5 separate regions of the Homo sapiens genome follow, and all the other regions are linked to region 4. Evidence: promoter capture Hi-C in 16 types of primary human blood cells and fetal thymus (Javierre and others, 2016). All regions are on one chromosome and are shown on one strand. Each heading gives the region's core, a stretch centred on a gene start or on the middle of the fragment in contact. The rest is flanking DNA. Distances are from core to core; before and after follow the strand shown.

Region 1 (4,849 bases), core at 1,960-4,459, 310 kb before region 4:
GACCAGAGCCAAGATCAACAGTCAGAAACAAGGTTGCCAATCCACACAGGACCTGGAGGAAGAGAGGGTGCCAGGCAGAACAACCAGAATGGGGACAGAGGGAGCCCACTCATTCATTTGATTAACAGTTATTGGTCACCTACCCACTTCACTCATTCAATCAACAATTTTTATTGGTCACCTATTGTGTGCCAAGAACTCCTCTAGATAACTGGCAATAGTGTGCCCTGTTTTCATTATATTTTGACAGGAAGGGATAAAAAGCAAATAGAAAACAAAAGGTAATTACAGGTAATGAAGTGTCATTAAGAAAATAAACCAGGAAATTATGCCATCGAGTAAAAGAGGAGGATGATCAGGAAAAGCTTCTTTAAGAGAACATCTGAGCTGAGATTTTAATGGCAAAGATGCTGGGCATGTGTTCTGGGGAGAAGACTTAGTTTGCTTAAGGGACAGAAAGAAGGTGAGGCAGAGAAGTAAATGAGGTTGAGGATAGGCAGGGTCAGGAGATGGCCTTGGAGGCCATGGTAAGGAATCTGGGTGGTACTGAGGGTGACTGGAAGCCACTGGCAGTTTTAAGCAGAGGAGGGGCACGGCTGGTGTTTTTTTCTAAACGATCACCCCAGTCCATGGAAAGGAGAATGCACAAGAATGAAAGCATGAGGCCCTAGGCAGGAGGCCCAGTGAGAGATGATGATGACCTGGACCAAAAGGTGGAGGGTTTTACAGAAATAACATACTTTGGAGATAGGGGAATAGGATTGCTGATGGAGTGGATGTGGGAACTGAAAGAAAACAAGAAAGTACATGAGTCCCAGGTCATCATTGAACACACAGGTGGCAGTGATATGATGCATGTGCCATAGTGCAGATGGTGTTGGTAGCTTTTTAAGTCACTCCTGTGGCTGCTGGCATGACCACGCCTGGGTCTTTAGAGGGGCCAAGGCAGAGAAGCCACAGTCAGCATCCAGGACGTGGCTGCACAGGACCATCAGAGGTAAGGCAGCCGACCTCTACCCAGCGGGTTATGTGAGCCAAAGCCACGGCTGACACATCTTCACTCCTCCCCAGACTGCCCTGAGTGGACCCAATCTTCCCACTTGGCCCCATCGTTCGCTCACCTGATTGTGCTTGGCGATGGCCTCATAGGAGCGCCGCATGGCCCAGAAGGCCTTGGCCTTCTCCCGCAGTGCATGCTCCATGTTCCTGCACTTGGCCTGACATGGGAATGAGAGAGAGGGAGGAAGACAGGTTAGGGCTGGAGGCTGGGCAGAGAGGGCAGACACATCACATTTACAACTGGGACTCCACTTCAACACAAGTGTAACTCAACTGCATTTGCCTAACCCCATCCATGCCAAGTGCTCTGGGCACAAATGGTAAGTAAGGTCCTGATCCTGAATCAGACATCCATGGGATAAAGAGCCCTCAGACATCCTGTAGCCCAGCCTGGTACAGACTGGGAGATGGGGCTGAGAAGAAGCAAGCTGCTCTCTCTCATGTTGGTCACAGCACAGGCCAGAAGAGTGTCCCATGTGGGCCAAAAGCTGGTTCATGCTGGGTCTGAATCCCTGAGCTGTGTGGACAACTGCAGACAGTGTGGTCATAGGTTCCCTCTGCAGTTTCCTAAACTGAATGGGTCTGCAATCTCTAATGTGAGGTGACTGACAATGGGGGTGGAGCCAGTCATTTCCCACGGGGTTCAGTTACCTCCCATGAGGCCTCACCTCAACATGCCCAACATGCCCCTCCATACCCCTCCTGCATCCTGACATTCTAACACTGCTTGTATCGCACGGAATACTTTAATCAGCAGGCACAAATACTTTTGGTTTAGTAGTTTTTGTTTCTTAAACTTTAATGATTGTTTCTGATGTCCTTGGACAACTTGAAGAACCACTAGAGTGTTTTAGGTTGGATTCCTGCCTCTTGTATCTTAGGCCTATCATTTTTTCTCCCTCATTATCCTTTTCGATCTACATTCTCAGAAAGCTTCTCAAGTTTTTTCTTAAGAAAAATAATTCAAATAATTATAAATGGTTATCATTTATTCAGTACTTACTCTGTGCCAGGGACAACACCAATTACTTGAGAAATTATGTCATTTAATCATTACTTCTCCCTAGTAGATAAGTAATATTATTGGCCCCATTTATAGATGAGAAAGTGAGGCACAGAAGGGAAATGACCAGCCCAAGGGCACACAGCTAGTATGTGGAAGGACGTGAACCTGGACAGCTATGGAGGCAGCTGCTGAGACAGCACCCAGTGATCCCTCCCTCCTGTGAGATGAGAGTGTTTTAAGCTGCTAAATGTCGGGGTGACTGGATATGCAGCAATAAATTATACAGATGTGTCGCCCAAAGCCTCATTCCCATCTGGACCTGATTTAGATGACAAATCTGGACTTTGGGCTGATGCTGTAAAGGGATGAGATGTTTGGAGAGCTTGGGAGAGGGCCAGTGCATTTTGCATGTGGGAGGGACATGACTCCTTATGGGGCAAAGGACAGATTCAGGCAGGCAGCCTCTAAAGTGGCCCCAGTGACCCTCACCTCCTGATACTCATGCTCTTGTGAAATCCCCTCCTCTGTGGGTGACTTGTTTCTAACCAAAAGAATGTGGCAAGTGATACTAAGTCACCTCTGAGGTTAGGCGACAAAGGCTGTGTACACCCTGCCTTCCTCTCTCTAGCTTGCTCACTGGGATGGTAGCCAGCTGCCCATGTGGTAATTTGCCCTGGGAGTGACTGCTGGGGCAAGAAACTGAGAGTGGCTTCTGACCTACAGCCAGTGAGGGACTCAGGCTCTCAGGCTAACAGCCCGTGAAGACCTGAATCCTGCCAACAACTACAAATGTGAGTGTAAATAAGGATCCTGCCCTAGCTGAGCCTTCAGATGAGACCACAGCTCCATACCTACAGCCCCTCATGACAGACCTTGAGGCAGAGGCACCCAGAGCTAAGGCAGGCCCAATTCCTGACCCACAGAAACTCAAAGATAATAAATGTTTGTTTTAAGGCACTAAGTTTTGGGCAATTTGCTAGGAAATAGAGAACTAGCCCATTGGTTAGAACTAGCCCACAGAACCCTGACTGCAGCCCCTCATGAGACACCTTGAGGCAGAGGCACCCAGAGCTAAGGCAGGCCCAATTCCTGACCCAAAGAAACTCAAAGATAATTAATGTTTGTTTTAAGGCACTAAGTTTTGGGGCAATTTGCTAGGAAATAGAGAACTAGCCCATTTGTCCCACTCAGTAGCCCATTCCTTTAAGTCTTTCACTACAGAAAACAAAATGGTTACTGATTTCATTTTCTGCAGTTCTGTTTTATTTTCAACTCATTTTGATCTTTTAATCTTAAGTGACAATATTTAAGATTTTTAAACTTTGTTTTCTGTAGTATATCATCTCTAATTTGCATGAGTGCCCCCACAAAACCACTGAAATGTCATTCCAATGTTTTATTTTATAGAATGAGATTTTTGATACAAAATCATGTAATACAGTTCAAAAGGAAAATTTAGTGATTTGCCAAATTAGTTAAGTGACAGGAGTGAAGCAGCTGTCCATACGCATTACCCAAAGGTGTGCAGGCCCCAAAACAACACAGTTCAGCCCCTGCCCTTCAACCCTGGCCCTTAGGAATTTATGGGACAATAAGGATGGGAAGGGGATAGTCCCTTGATCTTCTCAAACTTTTCAATCACTTGGAGAGTTCTGGTTTCCTTCAGAAAAGACCAATCCTAAAATGGCCCTTCTCTGAGATGTCAGCTGATGAGACTAACCAACAATTATATTACTATTGCTAGCAAGCAGTTACTATTAAGCATGTACTAGACACAAGGCACTAAATTATGCACTTTACAAACATTCTATTTAATTCAATTATTTAATTCGAATTCTCCCTATAAGGTTAAGCACTGTGAGTCCCATTATACAGAGGATCAAGTTAGACCCAGAGGAGGTAACCTTCTTGTACATGTCTCCTGGGGACACATGGGAACTCGTTTCTTCATAATATATTCCTGGGGATAAAACTGCTGGGCCACCATATGTGTCTTCACTTTACTGCGTAATGCCAAATTGTTTTCCAAAGCAGTGGTACCAATTTTTACAGCAAGAGCAATGTTAATAGAAAATGTTTATTGACCACTTCAATGTTTATTTTTAAGTACTCAGTAAAGTATTGTCCATTTTTCCATTGCGTTGCCTGCCATTTTCCTAACTGGTTTGTGGGAATTTATTATATATACACAATGTATGTCCTTGATTAGTTAGAGGTGTAATGAATATTTTCTACTTCATCATTTATCTTTCTTAATTGAAATATGGCCAAATTTATTAGTCTTTTCCTTTAGGATTAGTATACTAGTTTTAAGAAACACCTCCCTACACTGAGATCACAAAAACAATCGTATTATTTCCTCAAAGCTTTATAGCTTTGCATTATTATTGTATAGCTCTGTAGTATTTTCTCAAAGCTTTATAGCTTTCCTTTCACATTTAGGTCTGATGTGGATACCTGGAGTTTATTTTTGCACATGGTGTGACCAGGTAGCTCATTGTCTCAGCACCATTATTTAAAAAGACCATTACTGCCCACTGGTCTGCAGAGCCACCTCTGTCTTAAATCAGACACAGATCTGTTTTTTGGTTCTCTCCATCTGTTTCTCTGGCCCATCTGTTTATCCTTGTGCCAACATCACACAGCCATAATTTCTATAGCTGTAAAAAAGAGAGGATTTCTGATAGGTTTCTCTTCAAGAATGTCTTGGCAATTTTTGGCCCTTTGAGGGTCATATAAATTTTAGAATCTGTGAAGTTGCATAAAAATAATCATGTTGAGATT
Region 2 (4,622 bases), core at 1,109-3,608, 350 kb before region 4:
AATAGGCGAATGGATAAACAAACTGTGGTTCATCCGTACCATGGAATGCTATTTGGTAATAAAAAAGGATGAACTGCTGATACACACAGCAACTTGAGTGGATCTCAAGGGAATCACGCTGAGAAAAAAAAAGCCAGTCTCAAAAGGTCACAAAGTGTATGATTCCATTGATAGAATATTCACAAAAGGACAAGACTATAGAGATGGAGAACAGACTGGTAGTTGCCAGGAGCTAGGAGTGGTGGAAAGAAGGAAGGATCACTCTAAAAGGGGTGGCAAGAAGAAAACCTTTGTGGGATGGAACAGTTGTGTGTCTTGATTGTGGTGGTAGTTACACCAGTCTACACATGGGATAAAATGACATAGAACTATAGACACACATTGCACCCATTTCCTGGTTTGATATAGTACCACAGTTATGTAAAGTGTAACCACGGGAGGAACTGAGTAGAGGGTAGGTGGGACCTCTCTATTATACTATCTTTGCAACTTCCAAATCTGTAATTATTTCAAAATAAACAGTTACTAGAAAAGGGGAGAAAAGAGGAGTTGGGAATTCTTTATTTAACCCAAAACGGAGGATTCCTCCCAAAAAAGAAGAGTCAGGAAAGCAATCACAAGTCAGTTCTTTCTCTCTCCCTCTTTTGTTCTCTCTCCCTCTTTCTCTCTCCCTCCCTTTCCTTCTTTCTCACCCTCTTTCTCCCTCTCCCTTTCTCTTTCCCTCTTTCTTTCTCTCTCTCCCTCTTTCTCTCTTGCTCTTTCTCTTTCTCTCCCTCTTTCTCTCTCCCTCTTTCTTTCTTTCTCTCTCTCCCTCTTTCTCTTTCTCTCCCTCTCTCTCTCTCCCTCTTTCTCTCTCCCTCTTTCTCTTTCTCTCTCTCCCTCTTTCTCTTTCTCTCCCTCTTTCTCTCTCTCCCTCTTTCTCTCTCCCTTTCTCTCTCTCTCTTTCTCTCTCCCTTTCTCTCTCCCTTTTTCTCTCTCCCTCTCTTTCTCTCTCTCCCTCTTTCTCTCTTCCTCTCTTTCTCTCTCCCTCTTTCTCTCTCCCTCTCTTTCTCTCTCTGCCTATCTCTCCCCTCTTTCTCTCTCTCCCTCTTTCTCTCTCCCTTTCTCTCTCTCCCTCTTTCTCTCTCTCCCTCTTTCTCTCTCCCTCTCTTTCTCTCTCTCCCTCTTTCTTTCTCTCTCTCCGTTTCTCTCTCTCCCTCTTTCTCTCTCCCTCTTTCTCTCTTTCCCTCTCTCTCTCTCCCTCTTTCTCTCTCTCCCTCTTTCTCTCTCTCCCTCTTTCTCTCTCTCTCCATTTCTTTCTCTTTCTCCTTCTCTCTCTCTCCCTCTTTATTTCTCTGTGTCTCTCTCCTCTCTCTGCAAAGCTGCGTCATTCATCTTTGCAGACCACCTTCTGTGCTGCTCATGCATGTGGCTGCCTCACAGCCATGAAGGATGCCAGTGCTTTTTGGTGGTGCTAGTGTTCGTTGTAGTTGGGCCACACAGAGAAACCCATTAGCCCTCTCTTAGATTCAGTTTAAAGCTCTCAGGAAAACAAAATCCACTAACCCTGCCTGAGCCTGGAGTCCATGCCTCTTCCCATGGCAGTGGGGTCGCACAGTACAGATGTAACTGCCTCCGGGAATATGGACGCTTCCTCCTTTCTACACAGAGGTGAGGTCCTGATCCCAGGAAATGCCCCTTTCTCCTCCAGATCAGTCCCAGATGGATGGGTCTATAAAGCAAATGACAAAAACCCACCATCTATAGTCCACCTGATAGAGAACACTGGGAGAAAGGCTGGCCAGTAGCCATAAAGCTTTCCCACTTAAACACAAAGAAGGAAGGACCCTCAAGACAGAAGCCCCTGGGCAGGCTACTGGTGTTGAAACCACCTTTCCAAAAATTACACACTGAGAAAATGATGGCAGTGGGAGAGATCTGATCTAGCCAAACCCCATCTTGCCTTTGGCCTTCAAGCTGCCCTTAATTATTTCTGGGTTTAGGACAAGCTAACTTTAGGAGAGATTTAATTTATAGTTTAAATAATAATCAATAAATAATAAATAAAGTTTAATAATAGCCCTTCCCCAAAGCTTTAGCCTTTGTAAAGTTAATGAGAGATTGCCAGGCTAGGAGGAGGAGAGGAGGCTGAATTCGGCTAAGGTGCAGACATAAACAACTGCCAGCCATTATTTTGGAGGTCACACGATATGCAATGTCCCCAGTCACTCCTGCAAGTAACATCACTATTGAAGAACCTAAGATTGGCCATTTGAGATATCTCTTCAGGTTTTTTGCATGTTTGATGACCAGTGGCTCCATCTGGGCCCTCCAACTGCTCCTGTGGCCCCACCCAGAAGCAACTCAGTGTGCAGGAGGAACACTTCCCATGCCCCATGATTGTGCCCCCAACCAATCAGCAGCAACCACCCATTGCCTCGCTACCTCCACCCCTTCCTTCAAACTGTCTTTGATAAACCCTAGCCTCTAAATGCTCAGGAAGATTGATTTGAGTAATAACTCTGTCTCCCCCATGGCATGACAGGCCTCATGTCAATTAAACTCCATGGTCTCCATCAATTGCTTTTGTCTGTGCATTGGGAAGGAAGAACTCATCAGGCGGTTACAGTGTAAAGTGTGGGCTGCCTCCCATGGGACACACGATGAAGCTTGTGGCCCCCTGCATGGTGACTCCAGCTGACACCCAAGAGAGTTCCTTGGTGAGCCAGTAAACCACTTTAGGCTCTGCCCACAGGGATATTGCCCTTGTCCAGGGTCCTCCCGGCCCACCTCGGAAGGAGCCTGAGAAGAAACTGACTGTGGTCATGTGACGTCTTCTGAAGGCAGCTGGCAGTCTTCTGGCTTGGCCCACAGCTTGCCTGAGGGATGAAGATGCCCTGTGTGTGGTTGGTTTGTGTTGATCTAAAGACCCTGTTCTCCAGGCTTGAGGTTTTTTTTGGCAGCACAGCACCTATAAAACCTTAACTGGCAGCCTGTCGATTTAATTTAGGGAGACTGCATTTGTTGAAAGCTGTTTCTAGACAGCTTGTGAAGCTGAGCAGCTGAGCTGGGCCCTGCCTGTGGGGCTGCAGTTTCTTAGAAGGAAGCCCGAGGGCTCTGGTTCTCTGCTTAACGGATTTCGCCTTAGGGTGCGCAGGGCAGTTGAGAAAGTCCACCTTCACCTTGTTAATTTGTAGATCATCCCAAACCTGGTTCCAAAGGGTGCTTCACAGTGGGAGGCACCCCCCATCTTGTCCAGCAAGAGGGTGCAGAAAAATGGACCGGAAGAAGTTTGGAAGATTCAGGGTTTCCCAGCTCCCCTGGCCTTTCCTGAATGTCCTTATTCCAAGTGCCAGAACCTCGCTGTTTCATAATTGGTGCACCAAATTTAGTTCTCGATGTAGGTTGCTGCAGAGTGTAACTGCTGCAGCTCTGTAAGTCCTGTGATTAACTTCGAGAATTGACTCTAAGTGGTCTCAGATCCTATACTATGAGCAGAAAGGACTTCAGGAGCAGGGTTTGCACAACTGACCTAGTTTTCCTGTTTTTCCCATCCACTTTAAGCCCAACAGCCTCAGACTTGACCCCATGCACTTTACTGAAATCCCAGAGAGTCAACAGCATGGCCTGACGTCCTTCAAGATGGCCTTACAATCCCCTAAAGCCTCAGTCTCAGTAGAAAAACTGTCCAAGTTCCAAAAACCAGCAACACTGATTTCACCAGCTGTTTCTGTTTGTATATCACTGACAGGCAGCCAGCTTCCCCAATCCCAGAATGATGGGATCCCATTGTCTCCATGCCCTGAAACGGGTCAGTTATGTGGTTATGTGTGGCTTCATTTCCTAGTACCAGGTTGCATCTTATTTAGAGTTCATTTGGCTGCAAATTAACAGGAATCTACTCCAGATTACCATAAGCAAAAACAGGAAATTCATTCAAGTTTAGAAAGATATCACAAAGAAACCATCACAAAAAGACAGCTGGCTGGAACCAGGAATCAGCAGCAGCAGCACCTGGGAAGTCTGTCTCTCTCTCTCTCTTTCTCTCACCCCCACCTTATTCTGCATCTGCATCTCCCATCTCCAAGACAGACCCCCTCTCTGCTTCCAAGCAGTGGCCAGCCCACGATTCTTGGGGTAACAGAGAGACAGACTAGCCTTCTCTCCATCCTGATTTCAGAATGTCCAGGCAAGAGAATCCGTCTGGCTCACTTCAGGTCAGGTGTGTGTGTCTGGTGCCAAGGATTTTGACCAGAGGGTGGACTGCATTGTGCAAATCTGTATGGGGTAGGGGTCCTCTTCTGCGGGGAGGTTAATGGAGAGCCCAGCAGACACCCCACATGTGTGCTCCATCAGGGTCAGCAAGTAACAAGCAAAAAATAATATTGTGTTCATTACAAAAATGCCTGAACCTAAGTTCATTGCCAGTGGTGGAACATTTTAATTGGGTTAGGCAAGCTGGGGATGGGAAAACGATTTGCCTTGTGAGTATCCTGACCTCTAGCACCACAGCTGCCTCTCCCTACTGCAGAATCCCCAGGGGCTGAACATCCCTAGAGATGTCAGAGCAGGGTGTGAACAAATGAGTCTTTTAACATGGGTTGTCAAAAGGGCCAGAGACTGGGAGGGAAGGAAAGGGGGCC
Region 3 (4,757 bases), core at 1,304-3,803, 290 kb before region 4:
CCTTCTATTATTTCACCAATGTTTTGTAGTTCTCATCATGCAGGACTTTTGCCTCCTTGGTTAAGCGTATTTCCAAGTATCTTATTTTTGCTGTCATTGTAAATGGAATTGTTTTTTCTTAACTTCCTTTGCAGATAGTTCACTGTCTGCCTTTGCGTTTTGAAAAAAGGAGGATCTGGCTTCATTAAGCTTACTTTTCTGCATGGCAATAGACTTTTGAGCTGAATAGCAGCTGCTCCCTGTAGGAGGGACATTTGTTCTCCCATTTGCCACAGTTCCTATCCAGCCAGCTTCCCTCACATTCCCTGCTCGGCCCCTGTAGGCATTTCGGCTTTCGACCTCTTGTTTAGATCATCCACATGAAGTTACACATTGCTGCAATTCATTATAAAGACACTGGAGTGGTACAGGAATAGACAGCCAACTTGGCAACTGGACACAACACAAAGCTGATTTTCCATGTTCCTGAAATTTATATTGAAGCACTCAATTATTTTATTGGAAACATTTTGAATGGGAATATTTCAGAAATATATTTTGTGGTTTTTTTTCTCTAAAGCATGCAGAACGTAATATAAATCATACCTCATGATGCACCAAAATAGACAATAATACTCTACTGTGCTGGCTAATAAAGTAATAGGAGTTAATGAAGTATGCAGGGTTATTTGTCTCTGTCCTGTAAATGGCCACAGATGCTTGGTTTTGAGGGCTCTTGCACATGCTAGGCATTTTTTTCCTGTCTAGAAGTTCTTCTTGTTCCTAACAATGCATTTGCCTGCAGCAATCTGCTTTCACTTCCTAGTTGATGTTTCCTGCACACGGTGGGCTGGGACCAGATCACCACGTTTGTTAAAATTATGGAATTCGACACTGGCAAGCAAGGTTTGGGCAGTCACTCAATGCTTCAGAGCTTATCCATGGGATGTTGGGGACCAGATGAGCCCACTCACAGGTGGGGGTTAGGGGTTCAGAGCCAAGAAGACCAAAGTCATAGAGCTGATTCAGAGTCGGCAGGGCATCAGGGAAGTCTCCTTTTCCAGGCAGCCACTCTTTCTAGGAGCAGCCTGCAGGCCAGCCCTGCAGCAACCTGGGGAGTTATGGAAATCCTGAAGCGTGCCCAATAGCTGCGGAAACCATGTGTCCTCTGTGGCAACCATGTGTCCTCTGTGGCATTGAGGCTTTCTCTGCATGGTTTTGTTTGTTTGTTTTTGAGGCAGAGTATTGCTCTATTGCCCAGGCTGGAGTATAGTGGCATGACCTCGGCTCACTGCAACCTCCGCCTCCAGGGTTCAAGCAATTCTTCTGCCTCAGCCTCCGGAGTAGCTGGAATTACAGGTATGCACCATCACACCCAGCTAATTTTTGTATTTTTAGTAGACATGGGGTTTCACCATGTCGGCCAGGCTGGTCTCAAACTCCTGACCTGAAGTGATCTGCCCACCTCAGCCTCCCAAAGTGCTGGGATTACAGGCGTGAGCCACTGCGCCTGGCCTTTCGTGTTGTTCTTTAATGGAACAATTAAAAATGCTCTTCAGTGTTTTCCATCCTTCCAAAAATTGACCCAAATCAATTTTTCAATGGTTTAACTATGTCTTTATTTTTCCCAAAGAGATTCACATTGGATTATTTCCAGGAGCCCTTTTTTATCCTCTGTGGAAAGATCTTATTTTGTTCATTTTTTTTAACTTTTTCATTATGTGCAGTTTCAAATGCACTCAATATTTTAGAGAGAACAGTATAATTAACCCCCACATACCCATCATTCAGCTTGCATTATTATCAACTTTGCTATTTTCGTTTTATCTCTCCCCTCTACAGATTTTTTTTTGGATGGGGGAGGTGGAATATTTTAAAGCAACCTTTTTTTTTTTTTCAGGAACCCGTTTTAAAAAGTTACAACAGGGTGGGGCATGGTGGCTCATGCCTGTAATCCCAGCACTTTGGGAGGCCAAGGCGGGAGGATCACGAGGTCAGGAGATCGAGACTGTCCGGGCTAACATGGTGAAACCCCGTCTCTACTAAAAATACAAAAAAAATTAGCCAGGCCCGGTGGCGGGCGCCTGTAGTCCCAGCTACTCGGGAGGCTGAGACAGGAGAATGGCATGAACCTGGGAGGTAGAGCTTGCAGTAAGCCAAGATTGCACCACTGCCCTCTAGCTTGGGTGACAGAGCAAGACTCTGTCTCAAAAAAAAAAAAAAAAAAAAAATTACAACAGGACATAATATCCATTAATGGTCAGTTATGAGCTATAGCAATAGCAAGGAAATGCACATGTACTTCTAGTTTTTCTAACATCCCATAAGGTAAATTAATCCCATTTTATACATGAGAAAATTGAGGTTCTGCCTTAACTTATATCTAAAAGAAAATAGGATAAATGGTGGTGTATTAGCTAGGATGCTCTGAAGAAAAGAAAAACGCTGCATATTTCTCTGTACTCTTCTGTACCACCCAACAGTCACGTCTGATGCTGGATGTGCAGGAGTTTCTCCCCACCAACAACTGATTGCCAGTGAACACCAGCTGGTGAGACAGCCGGGTGGGAAGGGTCCCCAGAGAAACTCTAGCCAGCCTGTATACTGGGAGGAGTGCGCATTGGGGTGGAGCCACAGGAGTTCCTGCTGTTTGTAGTGGGGAGGAGTCTGGCCCCTCCTTTTCCTGGGTGGTACCTGCGATTCAAACTGTGAGGTAGGAAGCACGTAGGGACTCTGGCTTTGTGAAGGGTCCCTGTTGCCATTTTTTTCCCTCTTCACCCAATAAAACCCTGCCTTACTCACCCTTCAAATTGTCTGTGAGCCTAATCTTTCATGGCCATGAGACAAGGACCCCGTCTTTAGCTAAACTAAGGAAAAGTCCCACAACACTGAGCGTCCCATAATTCAGCTCAATTCAGACACTATCTACCTGGAGATAGCATCAGATCCCACAGGCTAAGGGCTCAGTCCCACAGGACTGCCCCAACTCCCCACCCTGCCACCCCGCTCCAGCTTCAGATGCCAGTAGCAAGTCCCGGGTTGTGGCCTGTGCTTCCGACTGACTGGCTATACATCAGGGTTCCCATGACCCCTCCTTAGGTTTGATTAATCTGCTAGAGTGGCTCACAAAGCTCAGAGAAACACTTTTCTTTCTTTTGTCCTTTATTAAAAAAGATATTGTGAAAGATACAGGTGAGCAACCAAAGGGAAGAGATGCACAGGGTGAGGTCTGTGGGAAGGGGCATGGAGCTTCATGCCTTCCCTTAAAGTGCCACCCTTTGAGAACCTCTGCAACTTCAGCTCTGAACCATGTTCTTTTGGGTTTTTAGGAAGGCTTCTTTATGTAGGCATGACTGATTACAGTATTGGCCATGGGTGATCAACTCAACCTTCAGCCCCTTTCCTTCCCCAAGTTTTAGGGATAGCGCTGAAAGTTCAGCCTTCTCATCATACCTCAGTTTTTCTGATGACCAGCCCTCATCCTGAAGCTATCTAAGGGATCTAAGATACCTAAGCCACCAGGCATCTCATTGGCATACAAAAGGCTTTTTTTTTTTTTTTTTTTTTTTTTTTTTGAGACAGGGTGTTGCTCTGTTGCCCAAGCTAAATTCATCCACTGGTGCAATCATAGCTCATTGCATCCTCAGTCTCCTGGGCTCAAGCAATCCTCTTGCATCAGCCTCCCAAGCAGCTAAAACTACAGGTGCATACCACCATGCCCAGCTAATTTTTGTATTTTTTTGTACAGATGAAGTCTTGCCACGTTGGCCAGGCTGGCCTCGAACTCTTGGCCTCAAGCAATCCTCCCACCTCAGCCTCTCAAAGTGTTTGGATTATAGGCATGAGCCACCATGCCTGGCCTCAAAAAAACATTCTTAACACTCCAGAAATTCCAAGGGTTTTAGAAGTTGTGTGCACGGTCAGAGACCAAATATATATTTCTTATTATGTCATAGTATCACCGATGCAGTTCAGGCTATGGTAACAGAAAGGCCAAAATAAAGTAACCCAAGCAACTTAAATTTCTTTCTCATGTAAAAGTTAAACTAGGTTCAGACTATGTCCAGGGTAAGCATGGTGGCTGGACGGCATTAGGTACCCGGATTCTTAACATCATAGACTGGATGGCTGCTCCAGGTTTCATTGTCAGGTGGAGGTGGAAAAGATAAAGTGGAAAATATTGGAGGATGTGCTCATTCCCTTGAGGGGCATGATTCTGGAGTTGCGTGCATAACTTCTACTCTTCAACCATTGCGGAGAACTTAATCACATGGTCGCACCTGGTCACACATGCAAGGGAGACTGGGAAATGTAGCCTTCATTTTGGGCAGGCTGTGACCATCTGAAAGTCAGGGATTCCAATATTAAGGAAAGAAAAGAGAAAGTTCTTTTTTAGGTTGAGGGCATGATTTTGAGTTCTATTCAAGCCATACTCAACTTATTTTGGCCTCAACTGTGGCCCACTTCGTAAACATAGTGATGTCTGGTTAAATTAGAGGTAGACATCCCTTGGTGATGAAGTACTTTTTTCAGTACTTGTACCCATAAGTTTTTCTTTGTCCCTTTTTTTTTTTAAATGGACTATCACTCTGTCACCCAGGCTGGAGTGCAGTGGCATGATTATAGCTCACTGTAACCTCTGCCTCCCAGGTTCAAGCGATTCTCCTGCCTCAGCCCCACCAAGGAGCTGGGACTACAGGCATACACCACTATGCCCAGCTAGTTTTTGTATTTATCCATTTTTTTTGTTAGAATACTTATAACCATACTGTTCTTTT
Region 4 (4,860 bases), core at 989-3,488:
TTGGCAGTGTCTAATCAACATGTCTGGAGAGGGGCAGGAAAACCGAGACAAGCACACAGAGGCCACCTGTGGTCCCCCGGACTGTGTGGCTCTGCTTTGCTGAAATGATTGACCACTTTTTAAAGTACTTATGAATCACTGCAGGGCTGGTTATAATGTTGGTTCTGAGACTGCTTTTCCAGCCAGTCTGCAGGTGATATGGATGCTGCTGATCCAAGGAATGTTCTAGAACCGTGACTGCACAGCCGACCTCCTTTCCTTTGCTCGGACTCACCTCCCCCCTCATCTCCTCTGCCTCCTGGGAGCCTGGCTGCCAGCTGCCCTGGGTGGAAGAGCCATGCCAAGGCCAAGGCCCTCGAGTCCCCAGCACTACCACACAGCCTCATTCTCCCTAAGAAGGCTTAAACCACTTGGCCTTGCTCCTTCTACCAGAAAAGGCCGGTTCTGTGGACAAAGGGGCTGCTCAGGGGAAGAGGAGGAGGAGAAGATGGCGGGGGGTGGGGGGCAGGGGGGGCGGGGGGAGCAGGCAGACTTTGGGAGCAACTCCCCTCCAGGCACACCCTCCTGGGAACTTTGAACTGAGCAGCTTCCCAAAACGTTTCCAAGCAGGGCAGGGCTGGAGGCTTAAGAAAATCAATGACCTGGCAGGGCGCATTGATTCACACCTGTCACCCCAGCACTTTGGGAGGCCAAGACAGGCGGATTACTTGAGATCAGGAGTTCGAGACCAGCCTGGCCAAGGTGGTGAAACCATGTCTCTACTAAAAATACAAAAATTAGCCGGATGTAGCAGCATGCGCCTGTAGTCCCAGCTACTCAGAGGCTGAGGCATGAGAACTGCTTGAACCCGGATGGCGGAGGTTGCAGTGAGCCGAGATGGCGCTACTCTACTCCAGCCTGGGCAACAGAGTGAGACTTGGTCTCAGGAAAAAAAAAAAAAAAGAGAGAAAAGAAAGAAAGAAAATCAATGACTGTGAACAGGGAGCCGTGGGGAGGATGGGAAGACAGTGAAGAGGGCACACAGATGGTGAGGGTTTCAATCCCAAAGCCCCGGCTCCTATCTGCTTCTTCAAATGGAGAAAACTAAACCAAAAGGAAAATAAGAAAAATAATCACCGGTAATTCATATCACCCAGAGGCAAAGGTTAGCACTGTGGTATATTTCCTTCTGTCTTCCATGCAGTTTATACAAGATTCTTCACATTCACCATCTTCAAATATTCTTTAAGGGCATACTTTTATGGCTATGTAATACTCCACTTACTCACGGACCTAAGTTTATTTTACCATTCTCACAAGATTGGCCATTTCAGTTGTGCCCAATGCTCCACTATTATTATAACTTAACATTTTCATGGGCATCTTTTTTTATATAGTATCTGTACTTTCCTTTAAATTCCTAACCTCTCCGTTTAAAAAATAATAATAAAAATCATATTTTTTTTAACTAGGTCCAGAAATTCTGGAAGGTCAAGAGGCTTTGGCTCGAATCCCAATTCTGATACTTATTTGCTGTTTAGTGTTGGCACCAGTCCTAAACCTCTCCAGGCCTCAGATTATCATCTGTAAAATGAGACTGTGGAATCAGAGGTCTGAGGCCTGGTGGATCTTGTGTGACTTTTCTCTGATGCACCTCAGATGCATTAGGAGGCAGAAAAAGTCGGATTTCGGTGGTTGCAGCATATACTGAAATCCGCAGCCTCATACTTACAGGCAACAGTGTCCAGAGAGCTAGAGAATTTAGAAGAAAACTAGATGACTCATGCATGCAAGCCGAAAGCCACAACTGAGAGATCCGCATCTTCGCAGAGGATATGCTGCAGGAAGGAGCTCGGTGCAGGCCAGCTCTGTCACCTGCTAGCCTGGGTCTCCCGCAACGCGGCAGGTCTCCAGGTCTCAGTTTCCCCATCTTTGCGAAAGGATGATCATTATATCTGTTCTATTTACCCCCCCACCACAGAATTGTGGTTGGAGCTCGTGCTCTCAGGCGGCGGTTGCGCCGGGGCCCCTGGCTCAGCTGCCTGGTGATGGGGCTCCGGCCACCTCCCCTCCCTGGCTTCCTGGGCTCCGTCGAAAGCGCAGGGGTTGTGACTGCGAGCTGTGTCATCCCTCTCTGCCTGGCTGCCATCCCCTGCCCGCCCATCCGTCCTGGTGTGGCTCTGCTCAAGGGTAGGGAAGACGGGGACATCTCACCGGTCAGCGGCACCCTGTGCCCGCGCGCTCCTCCTGGCGACGCCGCGTTGTGGGCACTGGGAGGCGCCGTATTTATAGCGCTCTGCTCGCGCACACACCCCCTTTGGGGCTGGCTGCAAACCTGCATGACTCACGCCCAAAGAATGCCGCGGAAAGCAAGGGGAGCTTTCTGGAAGCCGGGAGGTGGGGGCCGGTGCAGCACCGGGCTGGGGGCGCCGGGGGGCGCATCATCACCACGAATAGCTGTGCTGGCTCCAGGAGAGACCCTGAGGTGCGGCCGCTCGGCGCTTCCAGTAGGGAAGAGCCTGAACTCGCGTGCCCATCTGGGAGCCCCTCTCACGCGGTTAGCCCGGCTGTCTGTCCCAGTCCAAGACACAATCTCACAGTTCCCTGGCCCTACTGACCTTAACCTTCACATTACACAAGCGCCACTTCTCTTGACCCATTTAAATAGTAAAGAGTCAGACATAATGAGGGTGGGATGGAGAGGGGCCTTGTGCTGGAGAAGAGAGCACAGGAAGTATTGAAACGCCTACTCCTGGAAACATCACACTGATGGGGGTCCCTGGACTGACCCGCCAGGCCTGGAGGAAACAGAATTGTGTTTAGGAGTGATCAGAGCAGATATGTGGAGAGCCAGAAGGCCTCTCCGGGGTCCTTGATCCACAGAGCTTAAGCAATCACTGTCCCCATCTTTTTGGAACCCAACCAAGCAGGGTGGGCTTCATGGCTGTGGGACCCTTGCAGATCCACGTTTGGTTTAATGGGCTACTGTGACGGTCTTGAAATTCTTCATAGTTTTTGAACCAGTGGACCTGAATTTTTATTTTGCCCTGAGCCTTCCCAGTTAGGAAATCAGATCTGTGTCCAGAGGGGTTTGCTGGTCTCCAACTGCTGGAGTTCCTTCTGCTGAGAGCAGGGAGAATCTCCTGTCGCAGCCACCCCTCCCCCTGGCAAGGAGGGGCAAATCTAGGAACCCTGGAGGTGCAGCTACTTCTTGGGGAAGAAAGTGAGCTGCCCATTTTGGAGCCAGGGATGTTTAAGCCCCAGGAGAGAAGTCAAGGGGCTGACAGCTGGGGCAATGGGTGGACAGGGCGGGTACAGGCAGCCCCACTGTGGGTGGCAGACTTTGAAAACCATGTGAAACAAAGGGGCTTAAAGGAGAGCTGCGTGGTCAGGGGCTGAGTTTTCCAGTTCAGGATCAGGACTATGGAGGCACAACATGGAGGCCCAGTCCCTTGCTTGCCCAACGTCCAGGGGCCACTAGGACCCCAGTCCTTTTCAGGAGGCAGCCTCGGGGAATCTTCAAGGCCCATGACTAAGTGGGAGAACCCAGACCAGGTCCATGAAAGTCTGATTACAGTCCTAGGTGTGCCCCTAGACACTGGGTGACCTCGGACTAATCACTTTGCCCTTGGGCCTCAGTTTCTTCCATCTGGACGATGAGGAATCGGGAATGGATCATCTCCACGGCTCCCTGCAACCTAACCTAGAGCCAAGCCAAGTATTAGAAGGCCATTAACCCAGAAGAAGAAAAAAATGTCCCAGAAGAGGCTACACTTTATTTTTCTTAAAAAAAAAATGTCTAATTATCAGTAACAGCTACATTTTCTGTGGACAGTGCCTGCTCCTTATCAGTGCCTGCTCCTTATCAATACCTGAGGTTAGAAGAATTGTTTTTGAGCTCGCTCCTTGTAACTTTTCTGTTCTGTAGCTCCCTCAGCATCCGGAACAGAAGGCATAAATCTAGTTATATTTTTAAAAATTAGACTTTGGAGGTCAGTCAGTGAGATCCGCCTTAGCCAGCTGAATTAGGGGAAGGGAAGAGAGGAAGAAAGGACTTGGGAGAAAATAGCATGATTCACAGATTCACAGTCATGACTGTGATCCCTTGGGAATAATTACTTGATTATTCCCACTACTAAGCAAACAAGGTTCAGAAGGTCAAACTTTGAGGAAAGAAAAGTGTAAATTTTGAAAGCGCCATAAATGCATCACCAGATGTTTCATATTCTAAGCAGATCATAGACATTGATTGGTTCAGGACTCACACACTGCTTGATTCCTACCCCATCCCCAGCATCTGCACCCGGTGGTCATCCTGCCCATGTTTGAATGCCACCAATAACAGGGAGCTCACTACCTGCCATGCAACCATTTGTCTAGTAAAGCTGTTGATAAAGTTAGGGCCTTCTTTGGTTGAGTCACAGTCTGGCTCGTGTATGGGCCAATCCGGAGCCCAGTTCTGCCCTCTGGAGCCACACAGAGAAAATCCAGCCTATCTCTCCCATAGTGCCCCTTCTGATATTTGAAGGCAACGTAGTCTGCTTTTCCCAGTGACCTCCAGGCTTGCAGCTCCTTGCCTTGCCGTGGTTTGCAGACTTTTCCCCAGCCCTTTGACATTCTGGACCTCATCTCTCTTGAAACCCTTGGCCCAGCCCTGGACTAGCCAATGCCAGTGGGGAGCCTTGGACCAGCCAATGCCGGAGGGCCTGAGCACACAAAGCAGAACAGGACCACCCCTTCCCTTGCCCTAAACACTCCAAATAAGCTTTATCAGATGCTGAGTCACTGGGCTGATTCATAGAGAATGCATCATCTTCTTGGCAGGTGCTGCTGTTTGATCCTCTGTCTCCCATTATGGACTTACACAGCTGGGTTTGGGGC
Region 5 (5,030 bases), core at 521-3,020, 380 kb after region 4:
TTGGCAATCATGATTTACTTCCAGACAATTTCACCCAAGGCACTTAGAAGGGCAGGTTCAGAGCCAGGGATCTGCTTCTAGATTCTGCATTTTAGAGCTGGAAAAGCCCTCAGCCATCTGTGCCCTGCAGCCCTGTGCCCTGGGGCCATCTGCGCCCTGCAGGCCTGGCTCTCTGCAGGAATGCAGGGAACACAGAAGCCAAGGGCTCCCATCCTAGCTCCTCTGCGTATTGGTTTCTTGGGGGAACTTGGCTCAATTACCTGACCTCATTCAGCCTCAGGTACATGACCTCTAAGATGGGAAGGTGGGTAGCTGCTGGTCACCCAGGATCACTGTGAGCCTCCCGTGAGATAATGCATGTGGCATGACTTTATGAACAAGGTCACTCAGGGGAGCTGGTGGCAGTCTGATGAGAAAAAGCATCCCCCAGCATCTTCTGACTCTGCCTGGCAGCCAGGTAAGGGGGTGTCCAGGTTCCCAAGGCCTCCCTCCTACCTAGCCAGTCTCAGAAACAAAGCTGTTTGAAGTTCCCTTTGTAAAAGGCAATCGCGAATGCACTCTAGGGCTGATATCAGGACCCTGGCTCTTCAATCCTTCTCTGGAGATCAGAAGGACTCCATTAATTCCTCCTCTGAGTGGGTAGCACGAGCCTCATTTGCTGCTACCAAGTCAGTTTCTCTGGGTACCCGCATCTAACTCTGCAGGGTTTATGGCTTTTCTTTGGATTACCTCACTTTAAACTCATCAAAACCAAGGAAAAAAATCACATGAGTGTGGCCCTTCTCCAAAGAGAGAATCACTAAGGAGGTTTTAAATGTTTTCCTCCTCTAACTGTACTTAGTTAAGCTAAATCATAACCCAAAGCTGGACAGAGACAGATATTTTAGAAATAACCTCTCCCCACATATATCCCACCACTGGCACATGCACACGCACAGACATGCACACACACACACATGCACACACACACACATGCACACACACACATGCACACACACACATGCACACACACGAAGCCATGGAGAGGAGCTGTCACCTGAGCCATCTGCACCCTGAGTAGGCTCTTGAGCTGTGACATGAGTCAGGTGGAGTAGCCACCAAGGCAATAGCTTCCCTCTGGCACCCCAAATGCAGGCTCACATTCTCTCCAGCCCAGGCAGTTGGATGAGGGCCCGGCAGATATCTGCGGGCCCAGCAGGCGGGGACCTTCCCACCTGGAGAAGGCACCTCCAGGCTCTAGGTCTGAAGTTTCCCAAACTCTGTACTCCTCTCCATCCAGTTCACTCCAGTCTCCTCCAGCTGTCTTTGAGACAGCATGCCCAGGAGATAGGACAAAATTAGTACCAAGACTCACCTGAGTGCCCCTGGCTGAGGCTGTAGAGCCTTGTCCCCTCAGATCTCAGCATTTGCCATGGTGGCCAGAGAGCTGGCTGCCACCACGCTGAGAGCCAGGCCGCCCCTCGGACCGCGTCCCCACAGCCAGCCAAATCCAGATGGAGTCATAGAAAGGGGCTGCAGGGGCGCCCAGGGACGAGTCTCAGAGCAGGACCACAGGGGCCACTTCTGCAGGAGGACCAGGTCAAGATGCAACCTGTGGCAGAGTGGGGGTCTGGGCCTGGGGGACCCAGAATGGGGGGTGTGCGCCTGGGACTCCCTGTCCTTGGTGCCTGGTCCTGGGTAGCGATCAGGAGATGTTCTGAGGAGGCACCGGCAGCTCCTCTAGGTACTGCCTGAGATGCGAACTGCAGCTGCTCTCGCCGCCAGTCCGTATAAAATAAAGTTCTTGGAGCAGTTGCGGAGGCTTCTGCAATGGGGTCTGGAATACGGCCCCCCTCCTGCGGCCAATCGTGGCATTACAGCCCCGTGTGGGAACGCCCGCTGGGCCCAGAGCAGCGCGGTCGGCCTTGGCCTTGGGACTCCAACACCCCAGTCTAAAGGTCCTGCTCAAAATACTTTTTGGAAGACTTCTGGGGGAGTGGCAGCTAGACCTGGCTTATGAGCCACGCAAGAAAACCAGTCTTGTAAATTTATTTATAGCACAGAATTGGCATGGCTCAATTCATTCACCAAGCTTGGCACAGAGTTACTTCATGTATTTTCCTGGAGTCACATTCATCCTCAGTGGACACGGATTGGCCACACTGGGGGTAGTCAGGAAAATGCCCCAGGGGGTTCCACGGAACTCAGCAGCAGAATCAGCGTTTCTGGCTCATTAACGCTGCACAGGGGCTGGGGGGTGCAGGATGAAGACTAGCTGGCTGTCCATAGCAATTCAGTATGGGAGGGGGACCCAGGCACGAATAATCCTAAACCTGAGCATGATTGCTTACGTTTGAAAAAGGACATCTAGGCCGGGTGCAGTGACTCACACCTGTGGTCCCAGCACTTTGGGAGGCTGAGGTGGGAGGATTGCTTGAGCCCACCCACAAGTTCAAGACCAGCCTGGGCAACATAGTGAGACCCCATCTCTAAAAAAAAAAAAAATCTCTTTAAAGGCAATCTAACCATATGTGAAGGGAGCTGCTAAATTCAGATTGAGGTGGTAGTATCAGGGGCATCAGAGAAATCACCATAATTGTCCAAGCCAGGGTGGCAGAGTTAGGCTATGCAGATGGCTTCCAGAGGACAGCACCCAGAGGTAACATTCATGAATGCATTCCTGTTTGTTGGTGAAAAGTTCAGCCTCAAGACTCCAGGGTCAGGCTTCGTACATGAAAAGTGTTTGCCAAGACTCAGCTGTGTCACTGCAGCTGCCCGCCCACAGCTGAGTCAGAAACGCCGTCCTCATTCTCAGTGACTGCCCTGCCTGACTGCCTAGGAAGCAGCTCCAACATCAAACTCCATTTTACAGAAAGAACAAATGATAATTGTATCATTATGGTAATAATCCCAGGGAGCGGAGGAGGAGAAGGAAAAGAAGACAACACTTTATAGCATATACCATGTGTTTCTTATATATTAGCTCATTGAACCTATTCAACAACCCCCTGAGGCAGGTGCTGCTATTATGCTCATTTACAGAGACAGAGAGGAAGTGACTTGTCCAGGGTCTTGTAGCCAGTAAGTGGCAGAGCTAGTATTCAACCCTAGGCAATGTGATCCTAGGGTCTATGCTCTTAACCCCTCCCCTGTACCATTGCCTCTCAAGGGGAAACAAATGTTTTTGTCCCCCATCAATTCACCAACATTCCTAGGAATGTAATCTTAAAAACAGCCAGAAATGTGCTCAAAATATGATGTCCAACCAGCCTGGGCAACATGACAAAACCCTGTCTCTACAAAAAAAAAAAAATACAAACAATAGCTGGGCGTGGTGATGCACACCTGTAGTCCCAGGTGCTTGGGAGGCTGAGATGGGAGGATCAACTGAGCCCAGGAGTTTGAGGCTGCAGTGAGCTGTGATCGCACCACTGCACCCCAGACTGGGTAACAGAACAAGATCCTGTCTTAAAAAAAAAAGTGATGTCCAAAGACCTTCCCTAAAGAGATGTGTATGTTAGCAAGAAATGTGGTAGTTAGTGTCCCCCTAAATTCAAGCATTGGAAATGTAATCTTTATTGCAACAGTGTTGGGAGGTGGGGCCTTTGTGGGGGTATTTGAGTCATGAATGTATTTGGGATGCCGTAGAAAGGGCTTGCAGGAGTGGGCTGGCTTGATCCTCTGCCTTTCTGCCATGTGAGGACTCCACGCTCATCCTCGCTTGTCCTCCCACCTCCCGCCCTGTTCGAAGCACTGAGTCCTATTGCGTGATAGGCACATACCACACACAATGTGTATATCGGTCTCCTGCTGAAGGGGGTTTGGGATGTTTCCAATCTTTGTCTATTATGAATAAAGCTGCCGGAACAGGCAAAGGGAGATTTGACAGTGAAGTATAGGAATGACCTGGAGGGCTGGTTTTCTCATGGGTGAGAGTCCTCCCGGCAGCTCTTAGCTCAGATACCTCCTTGCCACTAAAATCAGAATTGTCCCCAAAATGATTTGCTTCCATTCAATCACGGATGGCATTTGTAGTAGGCATTTCCCCCCCAGAAGCTGAATGAAAATGTGATTGCCTTGATAGAGGAGGGTTCAATAGACTTCTGAAGTAGTTTCATCTATGAAATCTCAGTATTTGAAATGGAGGGACCAAGCTTTTTCAGTTTGTTTTTTCTAGAGGTAGGATGTCACTTTATCACCCAGGTCGGAGTACAGTGGCACAATCATAGCTCACTGCAGCCTCGACCTCCCAGGCTCAAGTGATCCTCCCACCTCAACCTCCTGAGTAGCTGGGGCTACAAGCACATGCCACCACACCCAGCTAATTTTTTAAAATCCTTTGTAGAGATGAGGTCTCGCTATCTTGCCCAGGCTGGTCTCAAACTTCTGACCTCGAGCAATCCTCCCGCCTCCACCAGCCAAAGTGCTGGGATTACAGGTGTGAGCCACCATGTCCAGACTCCATTTTTGACTCTGATAAATGGTGCTGCTGTGAACATTCTTGTGTGTGTCTTCTGGGGAACATATGAATGCCATTCTCTTGGGCATATACCTGGGCATGGAATCGCCAGGGCATAGGATGGCCCTGTGTTCAGCTTTGGTAGACACTGCCAAAGAGTTTCCTATGGTGGTTGTACTAGTTTATATCCAGCAGGGGATGAAACTACACTTATTCCTTGTCCTTGTCAGTGTCAGTGATGTTTATTCCATTTTCCCTGCTCTGGTGCATTGTAGAGGTGCCATATTGTGGTTTTAATTTGCATTTTCCTGATGACTCATGAAGTTGAGCACCTTTAATTATGTCATTAAGTCTGATTGTTGACTTGAACTCTGGGCCCGTTACACCAGCAGGTCCTGCCCTATGGCTTGGGGTTGGCTGTTCCATCTGCCTGGAGTGGTTCCACCAGATGTTTGCACAACTAACTTCTTTGCCTCATTCCCATCTTTTCTCAAATGTCACTTTGTTCATGCTGCTGAGCCTAATGATTCCTACCCACAGGCCAGGCATGGTGGCTCACGCCTACAATCCCAGCACTTTGGGAGGCCAAAGC

What was found. The method cuts DNA at HindIII sites, captures the fragments that hold promoters and counts their contacts. A CHiCAGO score of 5 or more calls a contact.
Region 1: a contact is called between a fragment that was not itself captured here and the fragment with the promoter of CLU in region 4, in 9 of 17 cell types (monocytes, fetal thymus, total CD8 T cells and 6 more). The highest score is 7.1, in monocytes.
Region 2: a fragment that was not itself captured here is called in contact with the fragment with the promoter of CLU in region 4 in 1 of 17 cell types (neutrophils); the score reaches 6.2 in neutrophils.
Region 3: a contact is called between a fragment that was not itself captured here and the fragment with the promoter of CLU in region 4, in 4 of 17 cell types (erythroblasts, megakaryocytes, naive B cells and 1 more). The highest score is 7.1, in erythroblasts.
Region 5: the fragment with the promoter of SCARA5 here is called in contact with the fragment with the promoter of CLU in region 4 in 1 of 17 cell types (endothelial precursors); the score reaches 6.7 in endothelial precursors.

What each region holds. Positions count from the first base shown.
Region 1 is chr8:27,297,343-27,302,191 of GRCh38, forward strand. TRIM35 (tripartite motif containing 35) reads right to left here. Exons shown (of 6, transcript NM_171982.5): 2 at 1,122-1,217. Among named protein-coding and RNA genes, the nearest start is that of TRIM35, 12 kb to the right of the region's middle. The HindIII fragment of the contact is 2,439 bases long and covers 1,991-4,429 here.
Region 2 is chr8:27,264,806-27,269,427 of GRCh38, forward strand. No RefSeq gene overlaps it. Among named protein-coding and RNA genes, the nearest start is that of STMN4, 8.7 kb to the left of the region's middle. The HindIII fragment of the contact is 576 bases long and covers 2,071-2,646 here.
Region 3 is chr8:27,317,456-27,322,212 of GRCh38, forward strand. It overlaps a transcript of PTK2B not described here. Among named protein-coding and RNA genes, the nearest start is that of PTK2B, 5.7 kb to the right of the region's middle. The HindIII fragment of the contact is 4,732 bases long and covers 188-4,757 here.
Region 4 is chr8:27,612,462-27,617,321 of GRCh38, forward strand. CLU (clusterin) reads right to left here and starts at 2,239. Exons shown (of 9, transcript NM_001831.4): 1 at 2,194-2,239. RefSeq lists silencers at 652-837, 2,393-2,482 and enhancers at 1,871-2,370, 3,327-3,827, 4,118-4,860. The HindIII fragment of the contact is 8,616 bases long and covers 1-4,742 here.
Region 5 is chr8:27,990,903-27,995,932 of GRCh38, forward strand. SCARA5 (scavenger receptor class A member 5) reads right to left here and starts at 1,771. Exons shown (of 9, transcript NM_173833.6): 1 at 1,355-1,771. The HindIII fragment of the contact is 6,163 bases long and covers 1-2,069 here.